2 separate regions of the Homo sapiens genome follow, and region 2 is linked to region 1. Evidence: promoter capture Hi-C in 16 types of primary human blood cells and fetal thymus (Javierre and others, 2016). All regions are on one chromosome and are shown on one strand. The core of a region is centred on a gene start or on the middle of the fragment in contact, and the rest is flanking DNA. Distances in the headings are between cores, read along the strand shown. Region 1 holds the start of MIXL1 (Mix paired-like homeobox). Region 2 has its middle 24 kb from the start of ACBD3-AS1.

Region 1 (5,918 bases), core at 2,543-5,042:
AAAACAAACAAACAAACAAACAAAAAGGGTGATTTGCTGGATGACGGTTTAGGGCTGTGCTGATAGATATGGAAGCTACTAGCCACCTATGGGTAAATTCAAATCTGCTAAAATGAAATGAAAAATTCAGTTCTTCAGTCACAGTAGCCCCATTTCAAGTGCTCAGTGCATACACTGAAGAAAGGAATATCAGTCAAATGTCAGGTTTGAGAATATTCTGCTAGTTGTTTCAGTTCTTCGTTTCAAGTATGCAGATATAAGTTTGGAAAACTTCTGGATTCTGTTCTCTGAGGTTGAAATGTTATTTTAACTTTATTGGTTAACTGTGTGGATTGGGGTTGCAAAAGACTCCTCTGTGTGAGACGAGGCTTCAGGCAAAAATAGTGGGAGGAAGAAAAGGAATCACTATTTTAAAATACACGTTGGGTTCAGCATCTATTGTGTGCTTAGTTTTTGAATGTATATGGTGCCAAATACACAACAACAAACAAGGCTTCTTAACGAGGGGATTTAATCACTTTCCTGGCACATTAATACCTTTTGGGGGCTGTTGTCTTTCAGTCTGTTGTAACCACTGGTTCTGAAATAAACTTCAGGAATTGTGGAGGCCTGGGCAGCCAGAGGAGAGGAAATCAAAGTGAGGCCAGGATCAAAGGGGCAAACAGCGCTGCGGATCTCAAGGTGGAAGCAGAGCCGTCAACTCCCCTCGGCTGTCTTTTCCTGGTTTTCCCTTTAATAAATACCCAGGATCTCGGCCAGGTCTTAGGCAGTGGAGGGCCTGACTTGAACAACAAAGAGAGCCCGGGGAAGAGAGTACTTAGCACTTGGGGAGGAAAGACAGGCCTCTGTGATATTTGGGTGATTCAGTGACAGGAACCGTGGTGGGAAATGTTGAGGACGCAGAACGGGACAGTGACCCCAAGTGGCCCCATCCTGCCCAGACTGGGCTGCTGTAGAACCGGCCCTGGATCCAGATAATCATGTTTTTTTTTCCCTACTGCCTCTTGTATTTACTGGTCTTCCCTCATTATACAGGAAGCATCCTTGAGGATTGTCTTCTATTTCACCTTGCCTTCCCTTGTGTCTATTTCAAGTTACTGACAGACTAAATGTAAATAATGGCCAAAATCTCTCAGCAAATCAAGTGGTGAGCTCGCCCAGGTGCTGGAGAGGGAGGAATCCAGATCCTAATCTCAGTGATTGCTGTCTTCAGCTAACCCTGAACTTAAGTTTGCTATGCTGGAGCTGGTCAGCTGATGTGCTTCTGTAGAAAAAAAGCACTTTATGGAGCTTTATACATCACAGGGTATCTGTTTTGGGAAAATAACTTGCAATAATTATTTTAAAAATTATATTGCCAAGGATAGGGCTCTTCCCATTTTCCTATTGAAAAACTGAATATAGAAGAATTAGCAAATGGATATGTGATATACATATCCATTGTATGCCTGCAGCAGGGTAACTGAGTCAGGAATCTAGAACTTGGATATAGTGAAAACCATTTATATGTTTATAAGTGTCTGTCAAAGAAGAGAAGTAGCAAATCATTTTAATTTCAAGTGCTTTTGTAGAAACTCAATATGACTTCTATCTTTCCAACCCTAGTCAATGAAAATCCCAAGTGAAATGGGAAATCCACTCGCATGGAGAAGTAATTTCTTTTTTCTTTTTCTTTTCTTTTTTTTTTTTTTGAGATGGAGTCTCAGTCAGTCACCCAGGCTGGAGTGCAGTGGCGCGATCTTGGCTCACTGCAACCTCTGCCTCCCGGGTTCAAGCAATTCTCCTGCCTCAGCCTCCTGAGTAGCTGGGATTACAGGCTTGTGCCACCACGCCCGGCTAATAATTGTTTATTTATTTATTTATTTATTTATTTATTTATTTATTTATTTTGAGACGAAGTCTCGCTCTGTCACCCAGGCTGGAGTGCAGTGGCATGATCTCAGCTCACTGCAAGCTCCACCTCCCAGGTTCACGCCATTCTCCTGCCTCAGCCTCCTGAGTAGCTGGGACTACAGGTGCCCACCACCATGCTCGGCTAATTTTTTTTTTTGTATTTTTAGTAGAGACGGGGTTTCACCGTGTTAGCCAGGATAGTCTCGATCTCCTGACCTGGTGATCCGCCCGCCTCAGCCTCCCAAAGTGCTGGGATTACAGGCATGAGCCACTGCACCTGGCCAATGGATGTTGGCTGTTTTGGAGATGCTGGGGAATTAACTTTTTTTTTTTTTTCTGAGTCAGAGTTTCACTCTTGTTGCCCAGGCTGGAGTGCAATGGCACAATCTTGGCTCACTGCAACCAAGAGAAGAGGGGGAAAGAAAGGAGAAGGGGTGGAAGGAAGATGGAAGAGCAGGAGGTAAGTATATCAGCTGCCCAGAAGGGCCTCAGGGGCTACACAGGACACAGTCCCTGCCAACCCCACCCCTTACCACAGCCAGGAGAGAATCAAGCCCAAAATTCTTCTCTGCAGCAGCTCCAAGAAAACTTTCCGCTTTGCCACCTGGAATGTCCACCCAGGATAAAAAGATCCAAGCTCTTCTGAGACTGTCTTTTGACCTTCTAGAATGCAGAGACAGGACGGGGATTGTGCCCTGAAAGATCCTCCCAATAAAGATCTCCCTTTGAGTCGACCACAGTGAGTGATCCCGGTGAAATCAGCGCTCAGGTGCTGGGGGCAAAAAGACCTGGGCCTCTGTGTTCCTCTCTTGAGTTCTTGCACTGTGGTGGGGCAGTTCCCATAGTGGACCATGGGTTTCTCTTTCAATAAGGAGAGCTCAGTGACATCCAATTCGACAGACATTCACTAAGGGGCCTAGCACCGCGCCTCACGCAGAATAGGTGTACAAAGCAGACACTCAATAAACTCAGAAAGGGAGAGGTGGGTTCCTGCTTGCTAAGACTTTATATCTAGCAGATAGAGAAACCATAACCATAGCACAAAGTAGAGAAAATGGGAGCTTTCAGAGCCCCAAGGGGCAGAGGAAAGAATGATGATTCAGGGCGCGTGGAAACTTCATGAGGTGGCTTTCATCTCCTCCCATCCAATAGACGGGTCTTAAGCATTGTTGAGTATCTCCAGAAAGGCCAAACTGCGCCGTATCCTCTGCTAATGGGGCACGTTGCCAACCCCGCCCTACCTAGGGTATCTTTATTGGTGGGCCCATGGACATTCCAGCCAGACCCCCCCACTCCCCCCACCCATTTAATCAGGAGGAATGTGCTGCCCCCTGGATCCTTTATCTTCACCCCCCTCCCCGCTTGGATTCAGGATGTGTTAGGGAGGCTTGCAGAAGACAGGGGCCGGGCTGTTTGACCAACCTGGTACAGGGTCTAGCACATAGCAGGGGTGGTAAATAAATAGCTTTGATGAGGACAGACGGGACTAGGGCAAGGCTCAAGGCCCAGGCCATGTAAGGCACAGGCCAGGCAAGGTGCTTCCGCCGCTCTTAACGGGGATTTGACCCGGAGAAGAGAGTTCTGTCGCCTGCGGCCCGCGCACCCGGGCCCCTCCGGGCTGCCCCTCCCAGGCAAATAGTCCTTCGGGGATGTGGATTGCGCCGTCCGGGCGGGTGGGCGGGGAAGAACACGGAGGGGGCCGGGACCCAAGTTCACGCCTCCCTCCTGCATCCCGCAGCCGGCGGAAGCGATTATTCCCCGGCGTCTGGCGGGGCCGGGGGCGGGCTCGCACCCGGAGGAGACACGGGTCTCCCCGAGCCCACCTTTGATCGCACCGCCCCGCCTTCCCAGCCCCTGGCCCGGGAGGGTATAAGTGCGGCCCGCGCCCCTCCGAGCGGCGCGCTGGGTTCCGGAGCGATGGCCACAGCCGAGTCCCGTGCGCTCCAGTTTGCCGAGGGCGCCGCGTTTCCAGCGTACCGGGCCCCCCACGCCGGCGGGGCGCTCCTGCCGCCCCCGAGCCCTGCGGCAGCCCTGCTCCCTGCGCCGCCCGCGGGCCCCGGCCCAGCGACCTTTGCGGGCTTCCTCGGCCGGGACCCCGGGCCGGCCCCGCCGCCCCCCGCCAGCCTGGGCTCGCCTGCGCCCCCCAAAGGCGCGGCCGCCCCGTCGGCGTCGCAGCGCCGCAAGCGCACGTCTTTCAGCGCCGAACAGCTGCAGCTGCTGGAGCTCGTCTTCCGCCGGACCCGGTACCCCGACATCCACTTGCGCGAGCGCCTGGCCGCGCTCACCCTGCTCCCCGAGTCCAGGATCCAGGTGAGGGCCCGCTGCGTTCGCAAGTGCGCGCTGGAGCGGAGGCGCTGCGGACTCTAGGTCTGGACTGCGGGCTCCTGAGGCCACACCCGGGACGTTGCAGGCACGGTGCTTCCCCTGAGGCTCTGCGTACTAGACTGAAATAGGGGGTGATATCGGCACCTGCTGCATAGGGTGGTTGCGAGGCCTGTGTGAAATAATTTAGGCCTGCACTGAACGATTTCTCTCATTATTAAATATAATAAGGGCTCCTAGGAGGCTAGCCGGTCCCCTGAAATGGCCAGAAAGTAATTCCCAGCAGGAAGATAAGAAGTTTTACACTTTTTCTTTATCCGGGAAGAAGACACAGATGAGGGGCAGTTGGGGTTTTCCTCTGGCTTTGAGCGTGAGAATGGTAGCTGAAAACGGGGAAGGCTGGCTCGCCAAGTTACCCCCATGCTACTTTCTTGGCAAGTGTTACGTTTTGGGATTAGATTTGAAAGGATGTAGCGAATTGAGATAAAGCGAGAAGCACCTGGAGCTTGTTTTCAGTTTGAAAAATCTAGTGCAAGGTGTGTTTATTTTTATTTATTTAGTTTTTATTTGAGATGGAGTTTTAACTCTTGTTGCCCAGGCTGGAGTGCAATGGCGCGATCTGGGCTCACTGCAACCTCCGCCTCCCAGGTTCAAGTGATTCTCCTGCCTCAGCCTCCCGAGTAGCTGAGATTACAGGCGCCAGCCACCACGCCCAGCTAATTTTTGTATTTTTAGTAGAGACGGGGTTTTACCATGTTGGTCAGGCTGGTTTCGAACTCCTGACCTCAGGTGATCCACCCGCCTCAAAGTGCTGGGATTACAGGCGTGAGCCACCGCGCCCGGCCGTGTTTATTATCTAAAGTAATTTAGATCAGAATCTTAGAGTTGGTAAGGAGAAGCCTGCCTTTTTGTCTGTCTGTAGCCCCGTGGTCGGTGTCCAAGCGCAGTTTTAAGTAGCAGCCCTCATTTAAACACTGGGAGAGTGGACTTGTTTTCTCTGCACCCCTGGCGGTCATACAGCTGTCAGTCTCAACAGCTGGCATGAGCAAAATACCTCCTTGATTAGTTTGACAAGGGAGTGCAGACCTTAAAAAACAGGTTTTCTTCATAATTTAATGCAGTTTTTTTCTAAGAATTCTAAGTGCTTCCATTTTTGTGACCCCATTTTTCATGAAAATTTCTCTAACTAAAGAGTAGATAGAACTAGGCATTATTCCAATGTTTCCATCTGGGAATGGGGAGGCAAGGAAAGCCAGGTGTTCTGAACTTCTAATCGTCAACCCAAGTGCTTTCTGAAGACAAGGCTCTGGAGAGGAAGCCAGGGGATGTTAAACTGGAACTTACCAGTATGAACTGTGAACATAATGTTAGCATAAAAAACTCCAACCAAAAGCAGCTTTTATTTTCTCCCCTCTTCCAGGTATGGTTCCAGAACAGGCGTGCCAAGTCTCGGCGTCAGAGTGGGAAATCCTTCCAACCTTTGGCTAGGCCGGAGATTATCCTCAACCACTGTGCTCCTGGAACTGAAACGAAATGTCTGAAGCCCCAGCTGCCTCTTGAGGTAGATGTGAACTGCCTGCCCGAACCAAACGGGGTTGGAGGGGGCATCTCTGACTCTAGCTCCCAAGGTCAGAATTTTGAAACCTGTTCCCCTCTCTCTGAAGACATTGGTTCAAAGCTGGACTCATGGGAGGAACACATCT
Region 2 (5,918 bases), core at 2,564-5,063, 99 kb before region 1:
CCATTTTTACCACGGAAGTACTTATTTTACAGTAAGACTCATTTCCAAATCCGCTGGCCTGTTACAAATATTCATTCACAGGTGATTTGCCTACAATTTACTCAATGAGAAAAATCCCGTTGCAAATAATTTCGTAAGTGGAGGAATCCCTTTTCAAGCAGATTATCAGCTTCTGCTTGTTGGGATGGATCTCCTTTTACCGAGCACGCTTAAAGGAAGGGCTGTACATCATTTTCCAGGCTCGTATTGAGCAGTGACAAGATCACAGCTTTGGTGGGTGGTGCACTTGGAAATGAGGGGCCCTGCCTCCCACCTTCCTTTAAAATACAGTCGTAAGGCAGTTAGTAGGACGTCGTCAGTGCCCTTGCTAAGAGAGTTCCCACGCGGGGCCTCAGGGGCGGCGGGGCCGCCTTCCCCCACGGCCAGCCTAGGGAGCTTGGGAATCGCGACCCAATGCACAGACGGGCAGTGCTCGCTCTCTCTTCACAGGCGGGAAACCGAGGCACAACGACGGCTAGCACCTGCCCCGAGGTCACACGGCGACCCAACTCGGTTCTCTGGCCGGCGGCCTTGTTGGTTCCGGTCTGGGAAAGGGACCCCGCAATCGTCCCTCCGGCCGCCAGCAGCGCCAGGCCCCCCCCCGCAGGGGCCGGGGGTGGCGGGCCCGCCGCTGACCTCCCCCGCCCGGCCTGGGTCCCGCGCTCCGCGGGGTGACAGCAGCCGGGCGCCCTCTGGTGGCCGCCGCGCGCAGCAGGCGGGAGCGCGGAGCGTCGGGGCCTGCAACCGGGCGGGGATGACGGGGGCCGGGGACCCTGCACTTTGGGACGACCTGGCCTGGTGGCCGCGCTTCCTTCGCTACAAAAAGGAAGCACATCTTGGAAACACCGAACTTCTGTGACACCAGTAGTTACACCTGGCCTCTGAATCGGGCGAGCAGCGCCCTCGCGCCCCCAGCGCTGAGCAGGGGCGGGCGGGGAGCGGAAACGGTGGCTGTGGTTGTTGCCGCGCGGCTGGGCGCCTGGGGAGCCCGCGGAGGGGCGCGGCCGCCAGACCCCGCCCGGCCCGGAGGTGAGGAGACCTCAGCCCCGGACGCCGAGGCCCCGCCCCGCCGGCGATGCACCCCCCGCCCACCTCCGCGCCCCTTTGTTCCGCGACCGCAGTCCCGCCGAGAGCCGCACTGAAGAGCCCCAGCCTGGCCGTCCCGCGGTTTCCCGCCGCCTCACCAGTCTCGGGCGGGAGGGGCCCCGGCGCTGGCGTGGCCGCGGCTCCCACAACGCAGCCAGGACTGCACTCGGGGCTGCTGGGGCCCGCGTGCGTCCCGGGCGGCTCCACGCGTCGGGGTCGCCCCCGCGCCTCCCACCCCCGGCCTCTCGGGGCCGCCGGCTCGCGCGCCTTCCAGGCGAAGGCCAGAGGCCGCAGTGAGGGGCACCGAGTGGCGGGCTCCTCCGCACCACCCCCGGGCTTTATAATAAAAGTCGCCGTTGTTTAAGAGCCAGGTCGGAGGCGCCGCTTTCTGGGCGGTGAAAGCCGAAGCGAGAGCGGGCAATTCGCTGCGGCGGCGGCCGCTTCCTGGGCGTCGGTCCAGTGCCCCGGCCCGGCCTGGGAGACCCGCACCAACCCCGGGAGGGAGGACGGGGCGCGGGCGCAGCCTAGGGGCCGAAGCACTGCACGCACGGCCGGCGCGGGGGCAGAGGGGAGACAGGGAAGCCTGAGCTCCGCGCTGCTGAAGGCTCCGGGGATGGGTGGGCGGCGGTGAGGTAGTCTTGCCCGGGCCCTGCCCGCGTGGGCGCTTTCTGAGTCTCTGTCGCGTGACGGAGGCGGGACCTAGGCTGTGTCTCCTGCGGGGCGAAAGCACGGAAGAGATCCGAGGGCATTTCTTGAGCCTGGCAGGAGGCCAGGGGTTTTACAGGGCAGGAAGGAACCTGGAGGAACCGAGGAGCCACGTTGTTGGTTGGAAAGAAGGGTGGCCAGGTGGGGAGGAGTCTGGCAAAGGGTCCCAGACAGCAGGAAGGGCACCTGTGAAGCCGCCCTGCCGAGTGTGTGGTAGAGGCGGGGTGAAATGAGCACTGCTCATAAAAGTGACTGTTGTGATTTTTTATGAGATGGAGTCTCGCTCTGTCGCCCAGGCTGGAGTGCAGGGGAGCAACCTCGGCTCACTGCAACCTCCGCCTCCCGGGTTCACGCCATTCTCCTGCCTCGGCCTCCCCAGTAGCTAAGATTACAAGGCGCCCGCCACCACGCCCGGCTAATTTTTTTGTAGTTTTAGTAGAGACGGGGTTTTGCCATGTTGGCCAGGCTGGTCTCAAACTCCTGAGCTCAAGTGATCCGCCCCTCTCGGCCTCCCAAAGTGCTGGGATTACATGCGTGAGCCCCCAGCCTAAAAGTGACTGTTTACTACAATAAGTACAAATAATAGGTGACCAGCACTTGTCTGCTGAGGCCCTGGGGCTGGGTGTGTTTAGGGGACCCCTCTCCTCTCCAGGCCCTCCCCAAGCCTGCCCACTGATGGGGAAGCTGCAGGGCTATCCCTCCAAGGGGAGGCCCTGCCAGGCCAGGGAAGGTCCAAGTGGGTGCTCACCAAGCTTCCTAGGTTCCCAGTTTTCTTGAAACCATCTTCCCAGCACAGTCATCTCCCGTGGTTGCCTTTAGCAAGTCACATCCCCTGACTCTTTAACATCTCGGTCCTGGCAGTTTCTTGGTATGGCACCATCTCCCTATGTGGACCACAGGTTATCTATCACACTGACCCGCTGTCCCTCACACACAGTCACTCACCTGTGACACTTGGAAAGGACTAGCTCCACAGGCCTGGCCAGGGCCCAAAGGGAGGTGGCCAGCAATCGAAATCAACCCTGATGACTAAGTAGAAAAGGAGTCCTTGGGAGTATTGTGGGGAGCTCAGGGAGCTGACCAGGAGTCTGGATGGCCACAGCCACAGCCGGGGACAGTCTTGGGAGGTGACTGTGGTCACCACCACTACTGGGCTGCAGCATCGCTGAATGCAGCCCCTGCCACAACTCCACAGGCATTGGCTGTAATGATGGGCGGGGGTGCTGGGCACCACAGCGGGGAGGGAGGGCTCCTGTCCCTGCATCTTTGCCTGGGTTAGCCAGATGCCCAGGAAGGGAGAAGGAATGCTGCCCCCTTTAGCCTTTGAGGTGGGAGGAGGGGCCCTGGCTCCCATGACAGCTCACAAAATGGGGATTGCCCCTTACTAGGAGCGGTGTGCGGATGCTGATCAGCCCACCGAATGCTCACCACTGAGGGGCTGCAGCGGCCAGGTGTGAGGGGAAGAGACTGCAGAGAGGTGACAAGGCCGTCAAAGGAGAGGAGCCACCACTGGGGAGCCTGGTGGCTCAGGAAGGCAGCTGGTGTGGGTGTGGGAGAGTCGGATCAGAAGGCCAGCACTGCTCATCATGGAGCACCTGGGAGAGCAGCAGCGACTCAGCTCCTGGCACCAGGTGAGGCAGGAAAATAGGGTCTGGAGGCAGGGAACATAAGGCTCATTCACACTTCAGCTATAACCGGAAATATCCTCTCCATAGGGCATATCAGGTAAATGACTTTGTAACTTTACTTCATCCTCTCTGTTTATATAGGGCATACCCGAAGTAACCAATGAATCCTCTAGGGGGTATTTAAACTCCCCCAAATTCTGTAACAGGGCCTTTTGAATCCTACACTCAGGCCCATTCCCACACAGTGGAGTGTACTTTCATTTTCAATAAAATCTTCATTCCTTCCTTGCTTTGTTTGTGTGTCTCTTCCAATTCTTTGTTCAAGATGCCAAGAACCTGGACACTCTCCACCTTTAACACAGGGGTTGTTTAATTTACCTTTTGCCTTAGAAATATAAAAAGATACACAGTAAAGGTGTGTAAAAGGAAAGGCCTCTTTCACCCTTACCCCACCCCCATCCCTCCCTAAAGGTCCCTGTGATTAGCTTGGTGTGTGTCCAGCCCTCCCTCTGCATTTCACACGGATATGCGAACAGTGGATCAGGCTTGGGTTTGTTTCTTCCAATAAACGGCATCATGCGGTATGTATTGTTCTTTAATGTGCTTTTGGAGACGTTTCCAATCCAGCAAACCCTTTTATCCATTTCATAATATTCCGTAGAATGCATGCTCCCCATCTTGAGGGAAGTTTGGGTTGTTTCATTCTGCTTTGTTAGGACGAATGCCTGCTTTTGTGCACACAGTTGAGTATGGGGCTGGGATTTGAGGGGAAGAGGCTCTGTTTGAGTCCCTGTTGATGTGAGGTGAAGGTGTGTTGGTCCGGCACTAAGCAGGCAGTGGACAATACATGCTGAGCTGGGTTGGGAGTGGACTCTTGGGATTCGGGACTCAAAAATAATGTACGGCCAGGTAAATTGCTGGTTTTGCTTCTGGGTCACAGGAAGGGCTGCGGTCCCCGCAGACCCAGATGCGTCCACTAGATGGCGCCAAAGCCAGTAAGGTGAGGCGCTTGTGACAGAAGCCCCGACTTGCTGCAGGAGTCTGGGCCCAGGGTCTGACTCCTGAGCTCCTAGGAGATGGATGAATATTCTTCCTGCACCGCCAGCTGCCTCGCTTAAACGTGGGGAGGCTGAAGAGGGTGCAAAGCTGGGTGAACATGAGTGATTAGACAGGATGTGCCCTGGCCAAGACAGGGAGCTGAAATTCAGTCTGTGGAACAGGCTGTGATGGCCCAGAGGAAATCCATAGGTGGGAGGAAAACTATGGACCCTGTGCTCCATATTGCCAGGACCTGCAGAGGAACTAGCTCCTGCAGAAGATGCAGGATTTGGACGGGAAGATTGGGCAAGGGTTCTGTCTACTGGGCACTGAAGGTTTGATGGGGACACTGGGATGGTCCCTGCCACCAAAGCAGCTCAAGCTCAGGCAGAGGAAATAGAAACTGGACAAATGCAGTATTTCTTATGGGCACTGCTCTAAGGAGTAATTTGGAATCCAGTAGGGTGATGTAAGTGAAGGTGCTTTGAAACCTCCCAAAGCTCTCGCCCAGGTAAGGAGGTTTGTGGTCCTTGTCACCATTTACCCAGGAAAGCTTCAAAGCAGCAGCGGCGGCGGCGGCGGCGGCGGCGGCAGCAGAATTTCCCTCCTTCCCTCCTGTTACTCTCCCAGCCTCCTCTCCCTCCTATCACTCTCCTAAGTTCAGAGCTGACCCCACTCCTCTGCTACCCATGGTGGTAGCCAGGCCTGTGCCTCTCCTAGCATCAGAAGCTGCCCCAGGCTCCCAGGACTGGAGCTCAGATCTGATTTTGAAAAACTGAATGAATGGGTGAGAGCGGTGGCTTATGCCTGTACTCCCAGCATTTTGGAAGATTGAGGTGGGTGAATTGCTTGAGCTCAGGAGTTCAAGACCAGCCTGGGCAACATGGTGAAACCCTGTCTTTACAAAAAAATACAAAAATTAGCTGGACATGGTGGCACACACCTGTAGTCCCAGCTACCTGGGAGGCTGAGGTAGGAGGATTGCTTGAACCACGGGAGACAGAGGTCGCAGTGAGCCAAGATTGTGCCACTTTACTCCAGCCTGGATGACAGAGCGAGATTGTCTCAAAAAAAAAAAAAAAAAGAAAAAAGAAAAAAAAAAAGCCGGGCACGGTGGCTTATGCCTGTAATCCCAGGACTTTGGGAGGCCAAGGCGGGTGGGTCACGAGGTCACGAGATCGAGACCATCCTGGCTAACACAGTGAAACCCCGTCTCTACTAAAAATACAAAAAATTAGCTGGGCGTGGTGGCGGGCACCTGTAGTCCCAGCTGCTCGGGAGGCTGAGGCAGAAGAATGGCATGAACCTGGGAGGTGGAGGTTGCAGTGAGCTGAGATCGCGCCACTGCACTCCAGCCTGGGCGACAGAGCAAGAATCCGTCTAAAAAAAAAAGAGAGAGTCCCAGTGCTAAAACTGAGAGTC

Evidence for each region. The method cuts DNA at HindIII sites, captures the fragments that hold promoters and counts their contacts. A CHiCAGO score of 5 or more calls a contact.
Region 2: a contact is called between a fragment that was not itself captured here and the fragment with the promoter of MIXL1 in region 1, in 4 of 17 cell types (megakaryocytes, endothelial precursors, naive B cells and 1 more). The highest score is 5.6, in megakaryocytes.

Annotation. Positions count from the first base shown.
Region 1 is chr1:226,219,872-226,225,789 of GRCh38, forward strand. MIXL1 (Mix paired-like homeobox) reads left to right here and starts at 3,793. Exons shown (of 2, transcript NM_031944.3): 1 at 3,793-4,203; 2 at 5,636-5,918. The coding sequence starts at 3,811. It overlaps LOC124904528 (a long non-coding RNA gene), which reads left to right and starts at 2,268. Exons shown (of 2, transcript XR_007066907.1): 1 at 2,268-2,353; 2 at 2,468-2,627. RefSeq lists an enhancer at 4,112-4,171 and a silencer at 4,217-4,511. The HindIII fragment of the contact is 11,005 bases long and covers 1-5,918 here.
Region 2 is chr1:226,120,909-226,126,826 of GRCh38, forward strand. No RefSeq gene overlaps it. Among named protein-coding and RNA genes, the nearest start is that of ACBD3-AS1, 24 kb to the right of the region's middle. RefSeq lists silencers at 476-535, 546-785, 966-1,355, 1,366-1,745 and enhancers at 1,836-2,065, 4,300-4,594. The HindIII fragment of the contact is 2,467 bases long and covers 2,581-5,047 here.